Regions from separate parts of the Homo sapiens genome. Here all the other regions are linked to region 2. The links are contacts of gene promoters, found by promoter capture Hi-C in human tissues and cell types (Jung and others, 2019). All regions are on one chromosome and are shown on one strand. Each heading gives the region's core, a stretch centred on a gene start or on the middle of the fragment in contact. The rest is flanking DNA. Distances are from core to core; before and after follow the strand shown. Region 1 has its middle 25 kb from the start of HMGN3. Region 2 holds the start of IRAK1BP1 (interleukin 1 receptor associated kinase 1 binding protein 1). Region 3 has its middle 8.5 kb from the start of MIR10524. Region 4 has its middle 43 kb from the start of MIR10524. Region 5 overlaps HMGN3 (high mobility group nucleosomal binding domain 3). Region 6 has its middle 13 kb from the start of MIR10524.

The links. The method cuts DNA at HindIII sites, captures the fragments that hold promoters and counts their contacts. A contact is called where the count stands out against the background at its distance.
Region 1: a contact is called between a fragment that was not itself captured here and the fragment with the promoter of IRAK1BP1 in region 2, in 1 of the 25 tissues and cell types used here (adrenal gland).
Region 3: a fragment that was not itself captured here is called in contact with the fragment with the promoter of IRAK1BP1 in region 2 in 1 of the 25 tissues and cell types used here (H1 embryonic stem cells).
Region 4: a fragment that was not itself captured here is called in contact with the fragment with the promoter of IRAK1BP1 in region 2 in 1 of the 25 tissues and cell types used here (small bowel).
Region 5: a contact is called between a fragment that was not itself captured here and the fragment with the promoter of IRAK1BP1 in region 2, in 1 of the 25 tissues and cell types used here (spleen).
Region 6: a fragment that was not itself captured here is called in contact with the fragment with the promoter of IRAK1BP1 in region 2 in 1 of the 25 tissues and cell types used here (thymus).

What each region holds. Positions count from the first base shown.
Region 1 is chr6:79,257,793-79,261,870 of GRCh38, reverse strand. No RefSeq gene overlaps it. Among named protein-coding and RNA genes, the nearest start is that of HMGN3, 25 kb to the right of the region's middle. RefSeq lists an enhancer at 3,792-4,078. The HindIII fragment of the contact is 4,719 bases long and covers 396-4,078 here.
Region 2 is chr6:78,865,432-78,869,496 of GRCh38, reverse strand. It overlaps IRAK1BP1 (interleukin 1 receptor associated kinase 1 binding protein 1), which reads right to left and starts at 1,946. Exons shown (of 4, transcript NM_001010844.4): 1 at 1,606-1,946. The coding sequence starts at 1,920. It overlaps LOC107986613 (a long non-coding RNA gene), which reads left to right and starts at 2,007. Exons shown (of 2, transcript XR_001744210.2): 1 at 2,007-2,109. RefSeq lists enhancers at 1,159-1,759, 1,592-1,911, 1,942-2,051. The HindIII fragment of the contact is 12,955 bases long and covers 1-4,065 here.
Region 3 is chr6:78,545,737-78,549,826 of GRCh38, reverse strand. No RefSeq gene overlaps it. Among named protein-coding and RNA genes, the nearest start is that of MIR10524, 8.5 kb to the right of the region's middle. The HindIII fragment of the contact is 5,619 bases long and covers 1-4,090 here.
Region 4 is chr6:78,494,364-78,498,909 of GRCh38, reverse strand. No RefSeq gene overlaps it. Among named protein-coding and RNA genes, the nearest start is that of MIR10524, 43 kb to the left of the region's middle. The HindIII fragment of the contact is 3,849 bases long and covers 309-4,157 here.
Region 5 is chr6:79,217,042-79,221,387 of GRCh38, reverse strand. The region is part of intron 1 of HMGN3 (high mobility group nucleosomal binding domain 3); the gene reads left to right. Among named protein-coding and RNA genes, the nearest start is that of HMGN3-AS1, 14 kb to the left of the region's middle. The HindIII fragment of the contact is 4,303 bases long and covers 1-4,257 here.
Region 6 is chr6:78,523,869-78,528,144 of GRCh38, reverse strand. No RefSeq gene overlaps it. Among named protein-coding and RNA genes, the nearest start is that of MIR10524, 13 kb to the left of the region's middle. The HindIII fragment of the contact is 4,934 bases long and covers 1-3,761 here.

The sequences.
Region 1 (4,078 bases), core at 1,506-4,005, 390 kb before region 2:
AAGCCATTTGAGCTCCTTGGGGGAGCGGCAGCAACTAGCACTGGGGCTCACAACAGCCTAACACACTAAGCTCCCTGGGCAGGGGAAAGGCGGCACTCATTTCTATAGCTCCAGGCTGTGATTTTCTCCTGCTGGAGGCAGGGAGGCTGGACAGTTTGGTCCCAGGACTTGTCCCCACAGCCCAACGCACTGGCTGTGGCAGTCTGCAGCCAGAGTGCCTCTTCAGATCTAACACTGACCCATCCTTCCTCATTGGTTGGGGCTTCCCTACCAGAACCCCAATAACTCCAGCCACAGGCTCAGAGACAGAATTCAGATCTCTCTGGGCCTGAGCCCCTAGGGGGAGGGGTGGCCACAGTCTCTACGGACCAGCAGAGTTAGCCTCTCCTCCTGGTAGTTCTGAGGAATCCAGACAGCCGAGATGAATGGGTTTTCACCCAGTGAGGCACACCCCCTCCACCAAGGGAAAAAGTGCTTCATTAAATGGGTCCTGCTCCCTGTGCCACCCAAATGAGTGAGACCCTCCAACAGGGGTTGTCAGACACTCTATACAGGAGCAGTCCTACTGGCATCAGATTGGTGCCACTTGAGGTTAGAGGTCCCAGAAGAAGGAGCAGGCACCATCTTTGCTGTTCTACAGCCTCCTTGAGTGACATCTCCAGGGAGCGAATCAGATGAATATGGCCAGAGGTGAACCTCCAGCAAATTGCAGCAGTCCTACAGAAGAGGAACCTGACTATTGAAAGAAAAACAAACAAGCAGAAAGCAACAACAAAACAGCATCATCAACAACAACAACAAAAAGACCTCCATGAAAACCCATCCAAGGGTCAGTAGCCTGAAAGACAGAAACTAGACAAATGTAAGAGGATGAGAAAGAATCAACGAAAAAATGCTGACAACCCAAAAGGCCACAGTGCCCCTTCTCCTCCAAATGATTGCAGCGTCTCTCCATCAAGGGTGCAGAACTGACAGAGGATCAGATGGATGAATTGACAGAAGTAGGCTTCAGAGGATGGGTAACAAACTATGTTGAGCTAAAGGAGCATTTCTAACCCAATGCAAAGAAGCTAAGAACCTTGATAAAAAGTTAGAGGAATTGCTAACCAGAATAACCAGTTTAGAGAGGAACAAAAACGACCTAATGGAGCTGAAAAACACAGCACAGGAACTTCGTGAAGCATACACAAGTATCAACAGTGGAATCGACCAAGCAGAAGAAAGACTATCAGAGTTTGCAGACCACCTTACTGAAATAAGACATGAAGACAACAGTAGAGAATAAAGAATAAAAAGGAATAAACAAAGCCTCCAAGAAATATGGGACTTCATAAAAAGACTGAACCTACAATATTCAGGATATTATCAAGGAGAACTTCCCCAACCTAGCAAGACAGGCCAACTTTGAAATTCAGGAAATACAGAGAACACCATTAAGATACTCCACAAGAAGATTGACCCCAAGACACATAATCATCAGATTCTCCAAGGTCAAAATGAAGGAAAACTATTAAGGGCAGCCAGAGAGAAAGGCCAGGTTGCCTACAAAGGGAAGTCCATCAGACTAACAGTGGACCTCTCAGCAGAAACTCTACAAGCCAGAAGAGATTGGGGCCAATGGTCGACATTCTTAAAGAAAAGAATTTTCAACCCAGAATTTCATATCCAGCCAAACTAAGCTTCATAAACAAAGGAGAAATAACATCTTTTCCAGACAAGCAAATGCTGAGGGATTTTGTTACTACCAAGCCTGCCATGCAAGAGGTCCTGAAAGAAGCACTAAATGTGGAAAGGAAAAACTGGTACCAGCCACTGCAAAAACAAAGCAATATATAAAGACCAATGACACTCTAAAGAAACTACATCAACTAGTGTGCAAAATTACCAAATAGCATCATGATAACAGGATCAAATAACAGGATCAAATTCACACATAACAAAACTAACCTTAAATGTAAATGGACTAAATGCCCCAACTAAAAGACACAGACTGGCAAATTGGATAAGGAGTCAAGACTCATTGGTGTGCTGTATTCAGGAGACCCATCTTACATGCAAAGAACACACAGGCTCAAAATAAAGAGATGGAGGAAAATTTACCAAGCAAATGGGAAGCAAATAAAAGCAGGGGTTCCAATCCTAGTCTCTGACAAAACAGACTTTAACAAAGGTCAAAAAAATAAAGTGGGCAAAGGATATGAACAGGCACTTCTCAAAGGAAGAAATTTATGTGGCCAAGAAACATATGAAAAAAAGCTCAACATTGCTGATCATTAGAAAAATGCAATAAAAACCACAATGAGATGCCATCTTATGCCAGTCAGAATGGCAATCATTAAAAAGTCAAGAAACAACAGATACTGGCAAGGCTGTGGAGAAATAGGAATGCTTTTTTTTACACTGTTGGTGGGAGTGTAAATTAGTTCAACTATTGTGGAAGAAAGTGTGGCTATTCCTCAAGGATCTAGAACCAGAAATACCACTTGACCTAGCAATCCCATTACTGGGTATATACCCAACAGAATATAAATCATTCTATTATAAAGATAAATGCACATGTATGTTTATTGCAACATTATTCACAATAGCAAAGACATGGAATCAAACTAAATGCCCATCAATGATAGACTGGATAAAGAAAATGTGGTACATATAAACCATGGAATACTACACAGCCATAAAAATGAATAAGATCATGTCCTTTGCAGGGACACAGATGTAGCTAGAAGCCATCATCCTCAGCAAGCTAAAACAGGAACAGAAAACCAAACAACACATGTTCTTACTCATAAGTGAGAGCTGAACAATGAGAACACATGGACACAGGGAAGGAAACAACACACACCAGGGACCGTCAGGGGAGAGAGGTGAGGGAGAGCATCAGGACAAACCACTAATGCATGTGGGGCTTAATACCTAGGTGATGGGTTGATAGGTGCAGTAAAACACCATGTCACACCTATGTATCAATTATATATGTTTACCTATGTATCAAACCTTCACGTTCTGCACATGTATCCTGGAACTTAAAGTAAAATAAAATTTAAAAAAAAAACTTTACCAAAAAAAGGAATTATTTTGTAACAAGACAGTTGGAGAAATTGGTTATTTTACCAAGGCTTTGACTGGAGTGGCTTGCTTTCTTTTAAGGAATCAAACTTGACTTATAGAGCCAATAAAAGGCTCTTTGGAAAACTGGCCTCATACCTTGTCTACACAGTCCCTGTACAGGGTTCCTGACCTGTGGTAAGTAAAGAATGTCACTTTCTAACAGGCCCAGGAGCCCCAGGTTATCTTGGTACCTCAAGAAGAGAGGAATTTACCCTGTTCATAGGTATTTGATGATAAAAACTCATGGCTAGGATCAGGTTTAAAAACAGTCTTATCTGAGATTCCTTTTATGGAACAAAGTTCCATAAAAGCCAATGTAAAAAGCTTATATGAAAAATAAGTATCCTTGCTGCACTTTATACCAATAATCAGGCCAAGTATAATAAAGCAAATTGGTCTTCCCATGATATGTCTTTAGTAAAAATGGGAAACTGGAAAGAGGAAAATTATGTTTCAAGAACTAAGGTATACCTGTTATTTGATTCTAGTCTCATCAGTTGTTTTTGAGTTTTCTTTTTCCCAGCAATTTAGACTAACCCTGCTTATTCCTGTGAACCAACCAGTGATCTCTGGCCAGTGCTCAAAAGAAACAGGAGGGACCGGTAATGTAAAAATCTGGATTAGTATTCTATTTCTGGGTATGTATTGGCATCAGCTAGCAACCCCACATCAGGTTGTTTCCAACAGTTGCCCAGTTCATGGAGAGTCTTGTTATTTAGTTTACTTGGGATAATTTTACTTACTTTGCTTTACTGTTGTGCAATATATTCCTGTTGTACTCGTTGTGTAGGAATGCAGGATAAGCTTACAAAACATTTTCTTAAATCAAACACTTATTAATCTTCCAGATATCACCTTTTGTTGGAACTTGGAGTTATAAGTGGCCATACTGATGCTTTCTGACTGAGCTCCTCTCTACCCCAAATACAAGAGACCCTAATAGTTAAGCAAGAATATCATCACCCCT
Region 2 (4,065 bases), core at 697-3,196:
CCAAGCTGGAGTGCAGTGGCACCATCTCGGCTCACTGAAACCTTCGCCTCCCGGATTCAAGAGATTTTCCTGCCTCAGTCACCCTAGTAGCTGGGATTACAGGACTGTGCCACCATGCCCACCTAATTTTTGTATTTTTACTAGAGATTGGGTTTTGCCATGTTGGCCAGGCTGGTCTCGAACTCCTGGCCTCAAGTGATCCACCTGCCTTGGCCTCCCAAAGTGTTGGCATTACAGGCATGAGCCACCATGCCCAGCTTATGTTGTTTTATATATTAGAGACCTGTGAGCTCTTTTTATTTTATGTAAATAACTTAAAAACTTGTTAACATTATTCAAACGACTACAGCACTAGTAGCAGTTTTTTAAAACTATTTTTCTACATATTAAACCCACTTTACTCACATTATTTATAATTATCTGTATTTTTCTAAATTGTAAAATCATTTGAAGAAATCTTGTCCAAATGACTTTGTAATAACTTGTATGTTTGTATTATAAATGCAATTCAAATATCTTTTCTTGTTAAAAATAAGGACTTGCTTTTTCGGGGTATGGAATTTCTTGCAATAGACTGGAAGTAACAATGCCTGCACTTTTACCAACTCAATGTCATCCTGGATAAGTTACATCTCTGGCCTTTGGGGTCCTACTCTATAAAATGAGAAAACTGAAATCGTTGATCCCTATGATTTCTAATTTTCTTTCATTCTAATTATCGGCAGAATTGGAAGCAACTTACATTCTGGTTTCAGGAATACATGAGTTCAAATATTGCTCTACCTAAAGTTCAGAGCATTGTTTAACCTCTTTAAATTTGGAAAACAGGGATATTAAAACATGCCTAACAGTGCTATTGTGTGGATTAAATGATGGCTTCATTTTTTTTCTTGCCTTAGGAGTAGGCTTAAGGTAAGATTTGTTTAGTGATTTGTCTCATGGACATCTCCGTTAAGTAAGTAGAAGTATTTCGTATATGTGGTATCCACAATACTGGCTTGATTTTTTCTTTTAAGTTAAACCTAAGAAGGCCGAAGAAATTTTGGGGGAATCACTATAAAATGAAAATCATTATAAAATGAAAATGGACGCAACTTCTTCCCCACTTCCCAACGTTACTGTTTGCGGAACATACTCAAGAACCATTCCATGCAAAGTTTTACATGATCGGAAGGAAGCAGGTCGTGCTCTTCACTTGCCAATTCCATGGTGCGGAATAAAAACAAAACAAAACAAAATATTTAGTGTCCAGCACTCCACGTGGGCAAGTATTTACAACTAACATTTCAAGTTTTAACATTTCATCACTTTAAATTTAAAAACAAAATCACTGAAGCAAATATCCCCAGATAAAAACCTACCCAATTTGCATTCTTTTATTTTTAATTTGCCTGAGGCCAATAATTACCTTCGTCTAGGAGAAGAATGGGTCAAATATTCACTCTGCCAGGTCCTGGCGTCCCGGAGTACCTTTGCAACAAACGCGTCCTAAACGCTCCAGACCCTCCACATCTCCCTTCCCGCTAGGGGGGCCTGTGGGGCCCGACCATCTGCCAACCCTTTTGTGTCTTCCGGCTCTTATTTCCTCCCCCGCGGAGATCTCACCTGCACGCCCTGCTGCTGGAGGCTCTGCGTGATGTAATCTAGACGGCGACAAACGCTCTTTTTGGCCTCGGCTGCCGCCTCCTTGGTGCTGCTCACTCGCACCACCACCTGCGCCCGGTCAGGGCCCGCAGACACTTCTGAGGTGCCGCTTACTTGCACCTCGCGGGTAGCAGTTTGGGCTTGTGTTGAGGAGAGGGGGTGGCGTAAGCCCGGTAGCGTCTCTCTCCCTGAGGCCAGGTTGTTCTCCCGGCTCCGGTCAGCCCAGGGAACCAGTTCCACGAACACTCGGGTCGGAGGGGTCTTTTGCAGAGACATAGCGATGGCAGCTGGGTTTCCATAGTAACTACCGGCCGACGGCGGCCGAAGGGGCCAATGCGCACCAGGGCTTGCCTGTGCACGGCGCAAAGTATGCCGGGATGGGTGTGGAGGCCGCGGAACTTCTGGCGGGCGCAAGCTATATGCCTTGTTGATCTTGCCGCATCTTTTTTACTAGATGTCGGCTGAGTGAGTAGCTACAGTTTTTAACATGTTTAACTTACGGCCTTCAAAAATTGTTAGCGGACTTTCTCTGTTGCCTCCTCAGTGAGCTCTGCCCTTTCTCGCAACTCCTTGTCGTCCCACCGCGCCTCTGCACCTCAGAGGAAGGAGAAGAGTAGCGAGGCCGAGCGGGTTTTTAGATTTCTCTGTGATTACCCCCAGCCTTGTCTTTTCTGACTTTACCGTCCCCGCTTGGGGTACTGCTTTTTGAGGCTCCCTCGGCCACATTTTTGTGGTTCGTGAGAGGTTTCAGTTGAGGTGAACTTTTTGCCCCTGTGATCTTGGACAGTTTATGATTCTTCATATCTCAGTATCATCTTCTCTAAAGCAGGGTTGATAATATTTTTTATATTAGTAATATATAATATATTCTAATATATATAATATATTCTAATATATAATATATTCTAATATATATAATATATTAATATTATCAAAGCAATGTTGATAATATTTTTCACATTTGCTATGTGCTTATAAGGCGCCCATTGTATGTAGAGTGCGTTGCATATGGAAAGCAGAGTGAACATAATGGATGTTTGTAATGATAGCTATGGCTTTGGCATCATTTTTGTGTCTCCCCATTTTTTTCTAAAATCCCTGGAATGGTTCGGGCCTTGAATTCCGACAGAAGAGATTTAGGTGGTAGCAAAGCACGTCCAACATGGAGTTTGCTGGGCCTGCACAACTTGGAGCTTCTCTGTACCCTTTTCTTCAGAGAACTTTTAGAACACAACCCTCAACTTCCCGTCTTCTGGATTCTCTTCCTAGCACTAAGCAATGATCTTTGTAAAAATAGCCCCACTGACTTATACGTCTTTACTATCTGAATTTTATCAAGAGAATCGAGGGGGGAAAAAAGAATTTTGAATAACTAGTTCTAGAAGGACAAGAACTGTTCTTTTAAAAGGACCCTGAAAAGCTGACAGTCCTCTTGTAGTTTCTTCACCATCGTTTTTTCTGTTCTTTTCGATTAGTATAATTCAACTAAATCAATGGTACCCCCCTCCTTTAATTAGGCTCATCACTAGATTAACATAATTTTGTGTATATCCATCTTGTTTATTGTTAGCTGAAAACAATTTTAATTTAAAAACTAACGTTAAGAACTTTCCGTCATAGTCTTTTATTATTTAAGACACCCAAAATAATGTTTCTTAAACTTGGTGAAAAATTCTTTTTCCCTTACGATAAATGCGGAAGAATATAGCCTCCAAAATAAATTATTGAATGAGTGAATGTCATAAACAAAAAGCAACAGGAGTTAAAGTGTAAGTATTTAGTATACGATAAAAGATTTCATATCAGTGGAAAATGATTACATGGTACAGGGATAATTGTAAGCTATATATATAATATACTATAGCTATATAGCTATAGTATATTTTATATATATATATATTTTTTTTTTTTTGAGGCGGAGTCTCGCTCTGTCATTCTGGCTGGAGTGCAGTGGTGCGATCTGGGCTCACTGCAAGCTCCGCCTCCCGGGTTCACGCCATTCTCCTGCCTCAGCTCCCGAGTAGCTGGGACTACATGTGCCCGCCACCACGCCCGGCTAATTTTTTTGTATTTTTAGTAGAGATGGGGTTTCACCGTGTTAGCCAGGATGGTCTCGATCTCCTGACCTCGTGATCCGTCCACCTCGGCCTCCCGAAGTGCTGGGATTACAGGCATGAGCCACGGTGCCTGGCCCATTGTAAGCTATATTTTTAAAGAATTTGTATCTTATATCATACATTGAAAATAATTCAGATGAGACCAAAAAGAAAAATAATTGGAAGAACCTATATGTAAATATAAATATTCTGGGGGATGGGAAGGCTGGCCTTAATCATAATTTCATGTGCAGCAACCATGAAGGAAAAGTTTGAAAAATTGGACTATACTAAAAAAAATCAGTTATATAAAGCAAAATAAAAA
Region 3 (4,090 bases), core at 645-3,144, 320 kb after region 2:
GGTAGGAGTTTTATGTTGAACAAGTTGGCTAAGCATATATATTTAACAGGTTATAGGATGAGTTATGAATAGTTATGAAGGTGGTCCTGATATATGTGTATCGAACAAATTGATGTATATATGACCCATGTTTATTTGGGGGTGAAGGTTTAACATTTAAATGTATTGTAATTAGGCTTTATATGTCAAATAGTCTTTTCAGGACATGGAGGCACGTAAGTGCACAGTCTCTGCAAACTGGCCAGAACCAGTCCGTGGTTGGTAGATGTTTTATCAGGAGAAAGTTACCGAAATGAGTCTCTTTGTCCAATCAAAGCTGTAGTTATGGCACCTTGCCTGGCATGACCTTACGTCTTGTTTATAATTTGGTATCTTTTTTTGTCACAAAGAGTCTGTCCTGTCAGTCTTATGATCTCTATTTTAACACTAATGCTGGTCAGCTGTTGTGTCTAAACTCCAAAAGGAGGGGCATAACAAGGCATGTCTGACTTCTCATTTCATCATGGCTGGGAACTCAATTTTCAAGTTTTTTGGGGAGTCTTCTTAGCTAAGAGGGGGTCTATTTAGTTGGTAGAAGGCTTAAGCTTTTATTTTTAGTGTATATAAATGTATTAAACAAGCTATTTTGTCAGTTTAATTTAAAACTATAGCTTACAAAAATTGAATGAAACAACAAATATTACTTTTCTTTCTCTACTTAATACTATGTCCAAAATTTAAAAACTATTTAATCCCACTAGGCCAATCTATTTTCCATTGCCAGCACACTACTAAATCTAAACTATGTTGAGCAACTTACCTCTATGTCCAGAGACTATCACAAAAAGGTGGGCATATAAGATTATAAGGGCCAGTTTCAAGACAGAAAATTAGTTCAGACCCTCCAAATCAAAGATGGGTATGCAAATACCTAAACAGCTGATGACTCAACACATAAAACTTATACATAAGTCAATTTTATAATCTTGCTTTTGGTTTTGGCTCTTGTATTACTTAAAGGATTTTAGGAATAAGTGAGTACCTGCCTACTTCCATTTCCATCTGGACTAAAACATTTAATTGACTATAAATCTTTTGACTCTATTAAGTCCCTTGGCCACAGCGATCCCACCAAGGGACAGGATAGACCCCAGGCAGGTAGCCATGCTACCCCAACAATATGGGACAAAATGAAAGTTTGGCCATAGATGCAGCCTGCGGCAAATCTTGGCCCAAAGTGGGGGAAATGTAAACTAGAAATAAAATTCTAAGCTCCCCATCAACTAAAGAAACACCCTCTTAGCCAAGGAGACCCCCCCAATATACTTAACTGAGTTCTCAGCTATGATAGAATGGGAGCCCAGACACTCTTCATTATACACCCTTCTCCCTTTTTCAGTCTAAACACAACAACTGACCAGCATTAATGTTAAAATAGAGATTGTAAGACTGACAGAGTAGACTCTTTATGACAAGAAGATATCAAAGTATAAACAAGACCTAATGCCATGCCAGACAAGGATTAAGTCACATATCCCTACACTTGAAAAATAAACTATGTTCTAACGCCGCAGATTTTTCTTTCTCTATCAGCCAAACAAACACTGGCCTCTAGATAAACAATATTAAACAATCACAACTCATCCAACTCACAGACACTGACCAATGGAACCCCTTGTTCTACCAGCCATATTTATAGCTTTGATTGGATGAGAGACTAATTTCAACAACTTTCTCCTTATAAATATGTGTTAACTTAAAAATTACAAGGTAGAACTTAGTTTAGGAGTGTAATATCCAGAATCTACAAGTAACTGAAATTCACAAGAAAAAAAACCCCATCAAAAAGTGGACAAAGGACATGAACAGACACTTCTCAAAAGAAGACATATATGTGACCAACAAGCACATGAAAAAAAGATCAGCATCACTGATCATTAGAGAAATGCAAATCAAAACCACATTGAGATACCATCTCATGCCAGTTGGAATGCCTGTTATTAAAAAGTCAAACAACAGATGCTGGCTAGGTTGTGGAGACAAAGGAATCCTTTTACACTGTCGGTCGGAGTGTAAATTAGTTCAACCATTGTGGAAGACAGTATGGTGATTCTTCAAAGACCTAAAGATAGAAATACCATTTGATCCAGCAATCTTATTACTGGGTATATAACCAAAGGAATATAAACCGTTCTATTATGTAAAGACACATGCACACATATGTTCACCGAAGCACCATTCACAATTGCAAAGACATGTACTTAACCTAAATGCCCATCAGTGATAGACTGCATAAAGAAAATATAGTTCATATGGACCATGGAATACTATGTAGCCACAAAAACAAGATCATGTCCTTTGCAGGGACATGGATGGAGCTGGAGAGGCCATTATCCTTAGCAAACTAACACAGGAACAGAAAACCAAATACCGCATGTTCTCACTTATAAGTGACAGCTAAATGATGACAACACAGGGACACAAGGGGACAACACACACTAGGGCCCTATTGGAGGGTAGAGAGTGGGAGGAGGGAGAGAAGCAGGGAATATAACTAATGGGCATTAGGCTTAATACCTGGGTGATGAAATAATTCGTGCAACCAACCCCCATGACACACATTTACCTATGTAAAAACCTGCACATCCTGCACATGTACCCCTGAACGTAAAAGTAAAATAAAAATTAAAAAAAAACCGTTTACAGAATTGGATGTCTCAATATTTGGCGATAAGTATGCTGTATAAGAAATCTAAACACAGCAATATATATTAGATCAGAAATCCAATAGGTATCCCTTTTTACTGTAGTTTGGATAATTTCTTCACTAAATGCTACCCTCCCTGTAATCTCGATTCCTTTGTTTCTGTGTCCCACAGTGCCTAGACTCAGTCTTTTTCTTTAGTTACTGGGGACTCATTCTAACTCATCTCCAACATCTGTTTGCTCACCAGTGAGTACCCTTAGTGCTCTGTCACATTTTTATTTCAAACTCACATCCTTTACTTTTTTTTTTTTTTGGTGCATCTTGCTAAATTTTTAATCTCTTCCCTTTATACTGGGTTGTCTCATGTTTAACACTTCCTTTGAAATCTTTTCTTAAAATTTAAAAATGTCTTTAGTTTTATAGATTTAGGGGGGTACAAGTACAATTTTGTTACATGGATATATTGCATAGTGAAGTCTGGGCTCTTAGTGTAAACATCATCCAAATAGTGCATTTTGTACCCATTAGGTAATTTTTCATCCCCCTCCCACCCTCCCACCTTTCCAAGTCTCCAGTGTCCATTATTCTACTCTCTCTGTCCATGTGTACACATTACTTAGCTTTCATTTGTAAGTGAGAACATGCAGTATCTGATTTTCTGTTTCTGAGTTCACTGAAGATGATGGCCTCCAGTTCCATCCATGTTGCTGCAAAAGACATAATTTCATTCTTTTTTATAGATGAGTAGTATTCCACCATGTATACACACACACACACACACACACACACACACACACACACATATATATATATATATAATATATATATATACATTTTCTTTATCCAGTCATCCAATGATGGACACTTATGTTGATTCTATGACTTTGCTATTGTGAAAAGTGCTATGATAAACATATGAGTGCAGGTATCTTTTGAATATAATGGTTCTTACACACAATTACTTTATTAAGAAAAAGCCAGGATCATATAATTCTTCTATATTTGAAGCCAGGACAGAACATTCCAAATTCTAAAATGGAATTTTTCCCTTTCTTTTGCAGTTTTTAAAAAGTATCCATGTGCTATCTTGTAACTGTGCTACCCTAAATTGCTTCTGTTGCTTGGAAGATGGGTGCTGTTTAAAGACTTCAACCTACAATGAAGTATGCTATGTCACATTTTTATTTATGTGGAATAGCTTATTCTTCCCAAAGTGGACTTTCATTTTAATAAAAGACTGCTGGAAAGAACAATGAATTAATACCTAATGTGGAATATAAAATTGCTTGGAACCCATATATGTTTTTTATTGTTAATAATAATTTATTGAATGCTTTCTATGTGCCAGGCACCACACTACATTATCTCATTTAATTTCCATATCAATCATTTACATTTTATCTG
Region 4 (4,546 bases), core at 984-3,483, 370 kb after region 2:
GAACACAATTCCATTCACATTAGCCACAAGAAGAAAGCACCTGAATAGCCAGAGCCATCCTAAGCAAAAAGAGAAAAGCTTGAGACATTTTACTACTCAACTTCAAATTATACTACTAGGCTATAGTAACCGAAATAGCGTGGTACTGGTACCAAAAAAATAGATACATAGACCAATTGAACAGGTTCAAGGATCCAGAAGTAAAGCTGCATACCTCTGTAACCATCTGATCATCAACAAAGTTGACAATAACAAGCAATGGGAAAAGGACTCTATTCAATAAATGGCTCTGGGATAACTGTCTAGTCACATGCAGAACACTGAAACTAGACACCTACCTTTTACCATATAAAAATTAACTCAAAATCGATTAAAGCCTTAAAATGTAAAGGCTTTATAGCCTAAAACTATAGAAACCCTAGAAGGAAATGCAGGACATACCATTCTGGACATAGGCCTTGGCAAAGATTTTATGATGAAGTCTCCATAAACAATTGCAACAAAAACAAAAATTGATAAGGGTGACCTAATTAAAAAGCTTGTGCACAGCAAAATAAACTATCAACAGAGTAAACAGACAAGCTAAAGAACGGGAGAAAATATTTGCAAAGTATGCATCTGACAAAGGTCTAATATCCAGAATCTGTAAGGAACTTAAGCAAAGAACATACAACCCAATTAAAAAATGGGCAAAGCACATAAACAGATGTTTCTCAAAAGAAGACATACATGCGGCCAACAAGCATGTGAAAAAATGCTCAAAATTACTAATCATTAGGGAAATGCAAATCAAAACCACAATGAGATACCATCTTACACCAGAGTGGCTGTTACTAAAAAGTCAAAAAATAATAGTTGTTGGTGTGGTTGCAGAGAAAAAGGAATGCTTTTACACTGCTGACTGTAAATTAGTTCAGCCACTGTGGAAAGCAGCTTGGAGATTTCTTAAAGAACTTAAAACAACTGTTATTCAACCCAGCAGTTCCATTGCTGGGTATACACCGAAAGGAATATGAATTGTTCTAACATAAAGACACATGCATGCATATGTTCATCACAACACTTTTCACAATAACAAGGACATGGAGTTAACCTAGATGTGCATCACTGGTGAGCTGGACAAAGAAAATGTGGTACATATATATCATGGAATACTACAAAGCCAGAAAAAATAATTATGTTCTTTGCAGCAACATGGATGCAGCTGGAGGCCATTATCCTAAGGAACAGAAAAACAAATACCACGTGTTCTCCTAAGTGGGAGCTAAACATTGAGTATACATGGACACAAAGGAAACAATAGACACTGGTACCTACCTGATGAGGGAGTGTAGGAGGAAGGTGAGGGTCGAAAAGCTACCTGTTGGATACTATTACTGTGCTCACTACCTGAGTGATGAAACCATTTGTACACCAAACCCCAGTGACATGCAATTTACCCATGTAACAAACCTAGGCATGTACCCCCAAACCTAAAATCAAAGTTCAGAAAAAAAAATGAAAAGCAAATAAAACATGAGTATGCTCTGAATAAAGGCATACCTTTCTGTTCAATAGTAACATGTATTTGATATCTTTTGCTAGGGGATCTTCTAAGTTTTTTTGCACGTAAATTGTTGGGCACATAGCAGAGGCTAAACTAGTTTTCAAACTGCATTGTCTTACTGTCTTACTATACCAGTCGCAGTCCCTGGCTTTGCAATAAGTTTCTGGACAGATGGAGTTAGCCAAAATGCTATCTAGCAATCGGAACCTGGGTTGCACACTCCAGCTCAAATGCAATTTAATCAGCATACCCTTTGGGCATGTACTGTCTGCCAAAGGCAGCTCCAGAGTAAGGTTGAAGTGAACCTAGGTTCTGGAAGGTCCAGGGTTTTTAAAAAAATAACATCTTGAATATTTGCAAATTTATATGAAGATACAGAAAGAAATGTTGAGGTTAAGAAAATTTATCAAAAATAGTTGCTCCATTACAGAGTCCCCTGAGGATAAAAACAGAAAGCATATTTTGAAGTCTTTGTTTTTATAAGGTGTTGGCCAAAAGGTAATTTCAATAATTCTCTTACCTCTTTCATTTATGTCTATCATTTCATCAGTGGGGGTCACAGCCATTTACTCCATTTTTGGAGATGCCATTTAACTCAAAAATCCCTGGAAGGAGTAGCAAAGTGGCTTGGATTTATATGAAGGTAGGAACTGGTGGGTTTGGATGATGGTGAGGAAAGGAGTGGGCAGAGGAAGAGACAAGAGTGAGTCTAAGTAGGGAGAGCTGTGCCGGGAAAGTCTTTGAAAGGAGAGAGCTAGTATGCTGGGAATGAAAATAGCTGACTTTAAAATGGTCTAGAATCAACCCTGGGTGCACATTATTATTAATTTTCTTTGACACTAATGATTTTTAAGGTAAGCCTTCAGGACTTGAATACATTGGAAAAATTGAGAAAAGCAGACTTTTCATCATCCAAGCCTCTTCTTGCCATGTGATTGTGTGTTCTGCTTGCAGGGCATGTTGCTAAGCAAGGAGACAGAAGTGCACATTCAATATCTGGTTCTGCAAATTTGTCCCTAAAGATTTTAGGGCTTCATTCAGGCAGAATTTCATATTGAGTTATTCTTGCCTTAAACTAGCAGACACTGGTCCTTCGGACTTAAAATGGGTCCATTTGCTGAAGCTTTCCATTCTGAGCTTCCCTGAGGAAACGAGAAGCATTTATTGTCACCAGGGGTTGCTGGTTTGGAAACCCTCTTTCCTGCTGCTGTGTTGTTCTCTGATTGTACATCTGGGGTACAATTTGGGGTGAGGAAGAAAGGTGGACCCTAAAAGTTACTGGCTTTGTCTTTCCCTGGCCTGGCTTTTAAAAAACTGAAGGTGTTTCGGTGACCCCTTTCCCTACTTGAAAGTAATGTTCAAAAAGAGTGAAAAGAGAGCAGGGTTTTTTTTTTGTTTTTCTTTTTTTTAAGGCTTTCATAGTGAGTAGTATTTTTCCCCATTCTAGTTTTCTTTTAAAATTATAATGATAATTCTACTTCACATATGTGCTTGTCCTATAGATCAGACAAGGCATTAATTTGCTTATTGGAGTTTGACAAACTGCCTGTATTGACTTATTGTCAAGCCAAAGCAGCCCCCCCGGTATAAAGGCTCTGAATTATTTTCTTTTTATTTTTCTTGGGGGGTGGTAAATGAAATATAATCTTGAAGGCTCCTCTTTCTCTGAATTTGTTACAAGGAAAGTGGAATATAGACAAAGCAATTAGGATCTCCATGCAGGAATAAAACTTACTTGCATCTTTACTAGACTGTTATTAATTAGTAAAATGTAGTTCTCTGTAAAGTTTAAAAACTATATTCTCACTCATAGGTGGGAATTGAACAATGAGAACACATGGTCACAGGAAGGGGAACATCACACTCTGGGGACTGTTGTGGGGTGGGGGGAGGGGGGAGGGATAGCATTAGGAGATATACCTAATGCTAAATGACGAGTTAATGAGTGCAGCACACCAGCATGGCACATGTATACATATGTAACCTGCATATTGTGCACATGTACCCTAAAACTTAAAGTATGATAATAATAAAATAACAAAACAAAACAAATCTATATACTGTCTAAATTTTTGTATGTGGAAAAAGAAAAATTCAGAATATAATTCAAAATATGTTCAAATCATTATAATATCAAAGATAATTTGAACTTGTAATCCAGGAGTGTCTTAGTAAAATAAATTTGAACTACAGCAGGAAAGTATTAGCTCGGCTCACAGGGACAATTATTTCCTGATCAAGGAACTGGATGATCTGGAACTGATTTTAGATTCTAGGGAAAAAATGGATCATTTCAATGAAATTCTTGAAATGTGTATGAAGTGAAGCAGAAAACTGGGACAAAATAAAATTGGTCATTCATGTGTTTGCTTCTCTCAAAGCTTGAATAATAAATTTGAAGGTTTAATAACCAACCCTACTCCTGGTCTAAATTTAATGTGGGCAGAATAATTGGTGTGTCTCCATGTCCTTTGCTGAAAATTCTGCCATCAACTGTAAAAATAATTTTACTCAAGTATGCATTTATGGTTGGAAATGGTTAGCTAATTATAAATGAGCTGCTGGAGCATTAAAACTATTAATTTAATAAATTTTCTAACCAGTGTGTCTTTAGTCCCAGAGCAATCTCTGGCACATATTAGGCATTCAATAACTATTTTTTAAGTGAATGAATTAAGTTAGCTGAGATAGAGGCAACTTCATCTTTAGTATACATAAATTAAATCTCTGCTATGGTTTGAATGTTTATGTCCCCTACAAAATTCAGGTTGAAATTTAAATCCCAGTGTAACATTACTAAGAGGCGAGGCCTTCAAAAGGTGATGAGGCCTTATGAAAAAGCTTTAAAGGGTGAATTTGGCCCGTCCATCTCCCCTACCATGTGAGAACACAGTATTCAAGGTGCCATCTTGGAAGCATAAACTGGGTCCTCAACGGACACTGAACCTACCGTACCTTGATCTAGGGCTTCCCACCCTCCAAAACTGTAAGAAATAAACT
Region 5 (4,346 bases), core at 857-3,356, 350 kb before region 2:
TTTGTGTAAAGAAAGAATGGGGATGGCACAGTTGGTCAGCTGTTGAAGGAATCCACACTCCCTCTGCCCATCTCGACTCCCACACTCCTTCAAGAGTTCTGAGTCCAGTGCCTTCATTATCAGTACAAATGAAGCAGTTATATTACATGTCTTGTACAGAAGAGGAGGCAATATAAACCAGATTGATACGATATTGAAGAAATAGAAAAAATGCTGTGAGTAAACCTAGTTATGTAATTTGTATTAGGGAGTAGATATGGTACTGTTTTTAATAGAGTAGGTTTGCTTTTAGTCTTTTTCTTCTCCCCAGTATGGATAATATTTTTATTTAGAAAAAAACATAAATACAGAGAAATCCAGGAAATAATATAATATACCTATTTACCCACCACTGAGAATTCACAAATTGGAGTCTTTTAAAAATCATTGTTCATTTCAGGCCTTTTTAGAAAATAAATTATTAAAGTTCAGTTTCCTTTGAAACATCCCCTTGGTTCCTTTTTCCTTATCATCCCCCCTAAAGATAACCATCATCACGAATTTGTTGTGTATTCTTCCAGTTCTTGCTTTTATACCTTTATGACACATCCATCCATCCATCCATAATATTGATTTGTGCATGTTCTAAAATTTGTATAAGTGGTGGGGCGTGGTGGCTCACACCTGTAATCTCAACACTTTGGGAGGCCAAAGTGGGTGGATCACCTGAGGTCAGGAGTTTGAGACCAGCCTGACCAACATGATGAAACCCCATCTCTACTAAAAATACAAAAATTAGCCAGGTGTGGTGGCACGCACCTGTAATCCCAGCTACTCTGGAGGCTGAGGCAGGAGAATCGCTTGAACCCAGGAGGTGGAGGTTGAAGTGAGCCGAGATCGCGCCATTGCACTCCAGCCTGGGTGACAGAGTGAGACTTCGTCTCAAAAAAACAAAAAAGGCAATTTGTAGAAGTGTAGTCCTGTACATGTATTACTCTGTTTCTTCCCTCTGTCACTTGTCATTATAATGGAAGGGTATACTATGTCTAGGTATATTGTGATTGCTGATTTATTTGGACTTTTTATGTTTTCTATTCTTTGTTTTCCTTTGTTTTTTACTTTCCTGCTTTTTATTGGTAAATATGTTTTATTCCACCCCTCCTGATTTGGAAGTTTATAGATCCTATTTCTGTTCTTACATTTTTTAATGGTAACTTTAAATTTTATTTTAACAAAGTCTAAAATTAATCTGTATCTGTATCATCCTCCAGAACAAAACCAGGACCATAGTATCCTTTAACTTCTTATCTACCGACCCCACTTCTATCTTTCATGATTGTTTTTGTCTAAAGCTGTGCTATATGGTAGCCATTAGCTGCATGAGTTTATTAAACACTTAAGAATGAGGAGCTGAATTTGTTATTTAATTTTAATCAACTTAAGTTTAAAAACTGATATTAGAATCAGCGATTGGTAAATTATAAATGTTTGGAGCAACCTGGGTAAAACTACTGTAAGTTTTATGAATTCTAAATACAGATTAGATGTTCCTGATAAAAATTTAGCATTTGAATAAAAATGTGTTCTAAGTATAAAACGAACACCAGATTTTAAAGATTTAGTACAAAAAAGTCTGTGAAATATCTCATTAATCTTTTTTTGCATTAATTACAGGGTGAAATAATAAAGTTTTAGATATAGTCAGTTAAATAAAATATTAAAATTAGTTTTACCTGTTTTTATGCTTTTTTAATGTGGCAATTAGAAAATCTAAAATTATATGTTGTATTTCTGTAGGAAAGAACTGCTGTAGAATTTCTGTTGAAACTTAAAAACACAATAGGTAATGTTGTTTACGATTAGTGGTTAATTAAATTTATTAGTATATTTTTTACATTTTTTTCTTACATAGTTTTCCTTCCTTCTAGATTTGTTTTTCTTATTACTAAATTTGAACCTTTAGTAATAGATTCTTGTTGAAAGAAATGCTTTGTTGGAAGTGAACTCTCTTTATGTTTGTATTCTGAAATGGCTTTATTTTGCCATCACTCTTGAATGATAGCTAGGTATAGAATTCTAGGTTGGCAGTTTTCCTCAACTCCTTGAATAGTACTCTATATTTTCATACATTTGTATTTGTTGTTGGAGAAGTAATTCTTTATAGGTAATCTGCCTTAACTCTGATAACTTTACAGATTTTCTCATTTTCCTTGATGCTTTGTAGTTTTATTACAATATGTCCTGTTGTATTATTTTGTTTGTTTTGTTTTGTTTTCAGTTTGTTCCTTGGTGTGAGTGTTCAATCTGGGGAGTCAAGACTTTACTTTGGGAAAATAGTCATTATGTCTTTGCCTTCCTACTGATACCTCTTTCTCTGCTTCTGAAATGCCTATTAGATAGTTGTGGAGCTTCTCAATTAACCACATCACCTAACCTCTCTTTTGTTCATCCTTTTGTTGTTCTTTGTTGCATTCTTAATTCCTCAGCAGTCTATGGCAGTTCCTACTGTGTCTGGTCTAGAGTTTATCCGTGTTTTGAGTTTTTTATTTCAATGAGCCTGCTTTTATTAGCTTCAAAATTTCTATTTTGTATGAATCAAAAACATTTTAATATAAAACATACATACGTATGTAGTATCTAAATAAATATTATTTACATAATAATAAACCACCATCTAGCTTAAGAAATATAACTCTTACCAATGACTTTGTCTTTCCCAGTCAAATTACCCTCCCTTTCCTCAGCAAAAGGTAACCTCAGTCATGATTTTGCAGTTATCATTTGTTATGCTTTTCTTTATAGACTTTTCTTGTATTTGTATTTTCAAACTTTATTTAAAATCGTGCCATGACTTCCCTTTTTTGCCCAACATTACGTTTGTGAGATTCATCTCTGTTGATGTGCACACCCGTAGTTCATTTGTGTTCACTGCTACATATTATTTGATTATATACCACAGTGTATATATCCTTCTGATGACATATGTTTAGGTCGTTTCTACTTTTTAATTAATTTTAGCTAAGTATATATTTTTTCAACATCCTTTTATTTTCATGCTTTCTATATCCTTGAGTTTTTGGTGTCTCTTTTAAGTATCATATTGTTGTATAAGTGTTAGTTACCTATATTGTTTATTATTTTTAAGTCTTAAAATCTAATTGAGCAAGCATTCCTTCCCTCCCCACTCCCCATTGTTTTCCTTCTTGGGGTGTGCCAGAAGGGATAAGAAACAAAGCCTAGGGCTGGTACAGGGTGAGAGCATACAGGAGTATCCTCACATAAGCAGCTTCCTTAAAAGGCATGAGAAACCAACAACAAAAAGTTAAAACGTCTCTTGCAGACGTGGATACGTGCATGAGACCTTTTTATTTGACCATGATTTGGGCCCTCTTGACCATTCTTGGTTCAAACTGGATTAGTGTAAGCCTGTTGTGTCCTGGAGAGTGGGGCAAGAGCCCCCTTTGCCTTGGCAGTCCCTGCATCCCGTCTAACTCTCCTCATCTTTCACATCCACCTGCCAGGAGGTTGAAGTACATCTGAGATCCCCTATATCCACCCCCAGCCTTTTGTTTCCCTCCTTTCTATGTTTTTATTCTTCGCAATCCCTTGGCACAAAAAGCTTTGGGTTTCTGTTTTAATCCCTTAAAACCATGCTCTCTTCCTTCCTGTCTCCGGCCTGTGGCTTAGTGTTAATTGATGGAGAGGGTTATGTGATAAGACAGCTTATAATGGTAGGTCTTTCCAAAATAGTCTACCTGTTACTCTGTGCAACAAAAACAGATAACCAGTTTGCAGGGAATCTGGATGTAAGGAAATGTGCTCAACTTTAAGGCTCTGTTGAATATAGTTTCATACTGTATAATTTAGAAGACTAAAGATCTTTTTTATTGCATAACCTCTGTGTAACAATTTACAGTTTATGAAATGCTTTCTCCAGTATCTCACTTGATCATAAGCAGTACCCTTTGAGTTAGCTGTCATTATCATCTATCATTCATGGATGAAGGAGACTGAGCCACCGTGATCAAGTCACTGTCCCAGATCGTACAGCTTCTAGGTATAGAGCCAAGATTCAAACCAGGTGTCTTGAGCTCACATCCTGCATTCATACCATTGTATCACACTGATCCCCGGTAAAGATTGATTGTTCCTGACTGCAGGTGTATTAAATGCTTGCTAATAGAAAGCCATTGTGGTAGATTGCCAGAGAAACGAGCTTTGCTAGCTCTTTACATCCAGAGCCTTATGTTCATTTGTCTGAAGGCATTCACATTTTCAGTGTACCTGCTTTTTTCATGCAGTGCCTTTCCAAGTTTCTCTTTTTTGAATAATTTGCATCCCATACAAACATTATTAGGTCGGTGTTT
Region 6 (4,276 bases), core at 45-2,544, 340 kb after region 2:
GATGGTATAACTAACTAGTAAAGCTTATTCTAAAACTTTGAAGGCTTTTAATCATCCAGTAAGTGCAATGCATAATGTAAAGATTAATCAGTATGCACAAATGTATTCCTCTTTCTCTGTTTTTATCCTTACATTTTATCTTCCCATGAGAATAGAATTAGAGGTTTGGACTTACAATATTCAAGGTGGTTTAAGTTGTTTTTTGAGTGTTTTCTGTAAACCAAACACTATTCTAAGTTTTTCAGTGAAAAAAATGGTTTCTGCTCTTATGAGGTAGAGGCCCATCTTGGCATGATGATAGGCAATAAGCCCTATTCATAAGAAATATCTAAATTATATAATCTGCTAGAAGATGATGGTTGTTCTTGGGAAAACAAACAAGAGTAAAGACTTGAAGGAGATGATCATAGGATATTCAGTATATTTAGACTTTTTTAGTTCAAAATGATTATAGGCTAATGTTCAACATAAAAAGGAAAAGTTAATTTTGTCTGTGTCACAGAAAATGGATGAATTCGTAGGACCGCGCAGAGGTTTTTAAAGCAGGTTTTGCAGGTTTTCTCTCCTTTGTTAATTGCATGTTTTATTTAAACTACTTTTATAATCAGATGTCTCCAAAAGGAGCATCATCTCTTTCACTATTGGATGAACATGTTGTATGTTCCCCCATTTGTTCAGGGTATAGCACATTAGCTCTGATGAAAACAAACAGTAACAAAAACAAAAACTCCCCATATGTTGATGAAAAAAAGAACTAAAAGCTAGAATGATATCACTTTAGAACAGGACAAGTTCTTAGAGATAATTCAATCCCACCCCATTATGTCACATCTGGGTGTTTTGGCTCCAGCCCAGTGGTAGTTCTGACCACTGGGGTTGATCTCTTACCTCTGATCTATAAAAAGAATGACAGTCTCACAAGGGGATCTCTAACATGCTTGGAAGAGCATGTTAGAAGCATGCCCCAAACATTTTATTTTCCAACACACACCTTCATGAGAGAAGGAGAATAATCTATCCACTCCCCAGAGAACATGTTAGAAGCATCATCTCTTTCACTATTGGATGAACATGTTTTATGTTCCCCCATTTGTTCAGGGTATAGCACATTAGCTCTGATGAAAACAAACAGTAACAAAAAAAAAAAACTCCCCATATGTTGATGAAAAAAAGAACTAAAAGCTAGAATGATATCACTTTAGAACAGGACAAGTTCTTAGAGATAATTCAATCCCACCCCATTATGTCACATCTGGGTGTTTTGGCTCCAGCCCAGTGGTAGTTCTGACCACTGGGGTTGATCTCTTACCTCTGATCTATAAAAAGAATGACAGTCTCACAAGGGGATCTCTAACATGCTTGGAAGAGCATGTTAGAAGCATGCCCCAAACATTTTATTTTCCAACACACACCTTCATGAGAGAAGGAGAATCTATCCACTCCCCAGAGAACAAACCTGGGCAAAAGAGTCCACACCTTTCCAACCTCTAGAGAGCACCAAAGAGATGTACCAACACATGAGCTCTTACCTCTTGTGAAATCTCTCAGAGGTCACGCCCCTGCCAACATACTTGGTTTCTGTGGGACTTGCGCAGAGGACTAGACCCCCGCTCCACAAAGTGTGATTCTGTCTTGGAGCAGCAAAAGTGGCAGCATCTGGGAGCTTGTTAGAAGTACAGAATCTTGAAGGTTCTCCCAGACCTGCTGAACAGGGAGAGGATCCATAGGTAATTCAGGTGGCAGTAAGGACTGAGACACACTGGACTGAAAAAAACTCCGTGGGGGCTTTCCTGACTAGGGAAAAGCACCTCCCTGCTTTGAACTTGACCTTTGAATCCTGCACAATGCCTCTCAACAGCCAGCCCATCTGTGTTCTGGGAGAATTCAACCAACTATTCCATGCTAATAGTTATTAGACCAGCTTGACTGATTACTATGTCTAGTGCCCAATTTTGGCAGGCCTGTGGGCCGGTTTCTGAATGTGTTTCCCTTAGATGGAGGGGTGGATGAGAATTTGAATGGAACAAAAGAGGACTGTGCCAGTTCTCCCAGACATCTTGCACTCTGGCCAAACCCTCCCCTTTGCCCTCTCTTCCATGTGAGCCCAAATGTTTTAATCTCCTTTCTTTCTCCACTAGAGAATCTGGCTCTTTGAGCATTCAACTGTTCATTTGCTACACATTTGTTTAACATTATTGCAAATATTAGGGGATATTGTATGCAGGGGGGGACCTTGGTTTGGGGGAAAAAAAATAGAAAAATTATCCTATCTGCTCCAATACCTGAATTATTTTTACTTCTGTATTTTGTTCCTTTCTGACTTATTTTGATTTTGATATCCTATCCAGTTCTGTGCTTGCCTTTTGGAGATCCCAGGCTACTCATTGTTTACCTAATCATCACTACTCTGGCTTTCAGTAGAGCAACTCCGTCTGCTCTTATGTGAAATAAGCTTGTTGTTCCTTCCTTCCTTGGGCCAGGTGGAGGATCTCAGAATCACAACAGTTTTCCATTCTTTGCTTCATTTTCTAGATAACACTTATATGAGGCAAGGATCACTATTGTCTCAATTTTATAGACCAGGAAAATCAAAACTCAAAAAATTAAAGGGTTTCTTCAAGGTGCAACCCTTGGAGTTTATTGCTGAAGGAGACAGGTCCTGATGATGGATAACTGCAAAGGAAGTAAAAATTCAGTTTAACTTAATTTGAACTTCTAAAATATGTTTTAGGCAGGTTGTTTTAAGAAATAAGAGCTAAGATTATAGAGCCCAACCTTGTGCCCATGATGGACTAATTTACGGATGAGCAGACTGAGGGACAGGAAGGTTAAGAAGCACAGGAATTATCAGAGCTGGTGTATGAGCCCAGGCAATCTGTCTCCACTTTACTGTCCTATCTTGCAGTACTAAAGAATATGTAGGAACTACTTAAGAAAACACAAATATAGGTGTTTTCAATTATTCGTAAAACCCTACAGAAGGTAAAAGTTTTGTAAAGGGCAGGAAGTTCAGTTTTAGAAGAGCCAGATGCAATAATGCCTTATGTTTGAACAGAGATTTTCTCCAAAAAGATCAGTAATTTGCTTTATATCCCTGCCCACCTTCTGACCTAAGGCCTTCTTTGTTAATAAGGAAAAGATTAAAGGCGTGAAGAGAAAAAAATGAATTTCTCTATTTAAATAATCAAATAAAGTGGTGATTGCAGCTGAATACTCAGCTAAAACTTCAGCAGTCAAATGTGAACCAGCCTGAGATTAGAAGGGTTTAAAGCTCTCAAGCAAATCTGTAAGAGGTGGATCAGGGTCCACTCTTCATCAGAGCTGATTGTAGGTGGATGTTTAATGAGCACATGATATGTCTTCTGAAACAGAAAAACACCTTTTGAAATATAAGTTGACATTCACTCAGCTCTCCAAGATTCAGCCTTTCTATGTGATTGTGTGCTTCATGCTCATGTGCCAGAAATAAAAATAAAGTCTGGGAGTGGCAGGAAGATTCTGGGGCTCTGTGAGATGGGCTGATGCTTCAGGTGGCATATTTATTCCACGAATTGGAATAAATATGACAGATCAGCTTGGTCCATTCACTAGACTTGCACAAGGAGAGAGCGTTGGGGAAATACACTGGAGTCACATGTGTCAGGTGTTCTACTTTCTAAACTACCTTCAGGTGCTTAATTAATCCAAGGGGAAAAAATGTGGTTTATTTCCCAATAAGGATGGAAAGGCATGTTGGAAATTCCTCTGGTCAGTCAGTAACCAGATGGACACCCAATCCTGTAGATATTTCACTGAAGCATCTGTGGAAGAATGCATTGTGGGGACATGGGAAATATGGTCCCAGGGAAAATCTCTTTTATTTCACCATGGGGGTTCTATGCTTGCTCATGGCTTAGGAGTAGAGATAGGAATTGTTTCAGGTTATCTGAGGCTAATCCCAGAGCCTACTCTGAGCTTCAGGCTATGTTCTTGAGGCCATGTGTCAATTTTGATACATATCCTCGGGTGGTTTGTGTCCAGTGGAGCTCAGTGCAGTTTTGACTTTCAGTGTCCTCTCTGAAAGTTTGAGAGGAAATAAAGGAAGTAGGGAAGGGATATGTGAACTCTTGGGCTACTTCTCAGTATAATTTGGAGTCCTCTGGTACTGCTGACCCTCCCCAGAGCTGGCACACTAGTTCTTTATGCAACACTCCTAGGACATGTTCCATGCTACTAAAGCTGTTTGAAGCAAAGCATTGGCAGCAAGAAGGCCTCAGCTTTCATTTATTGGAATACA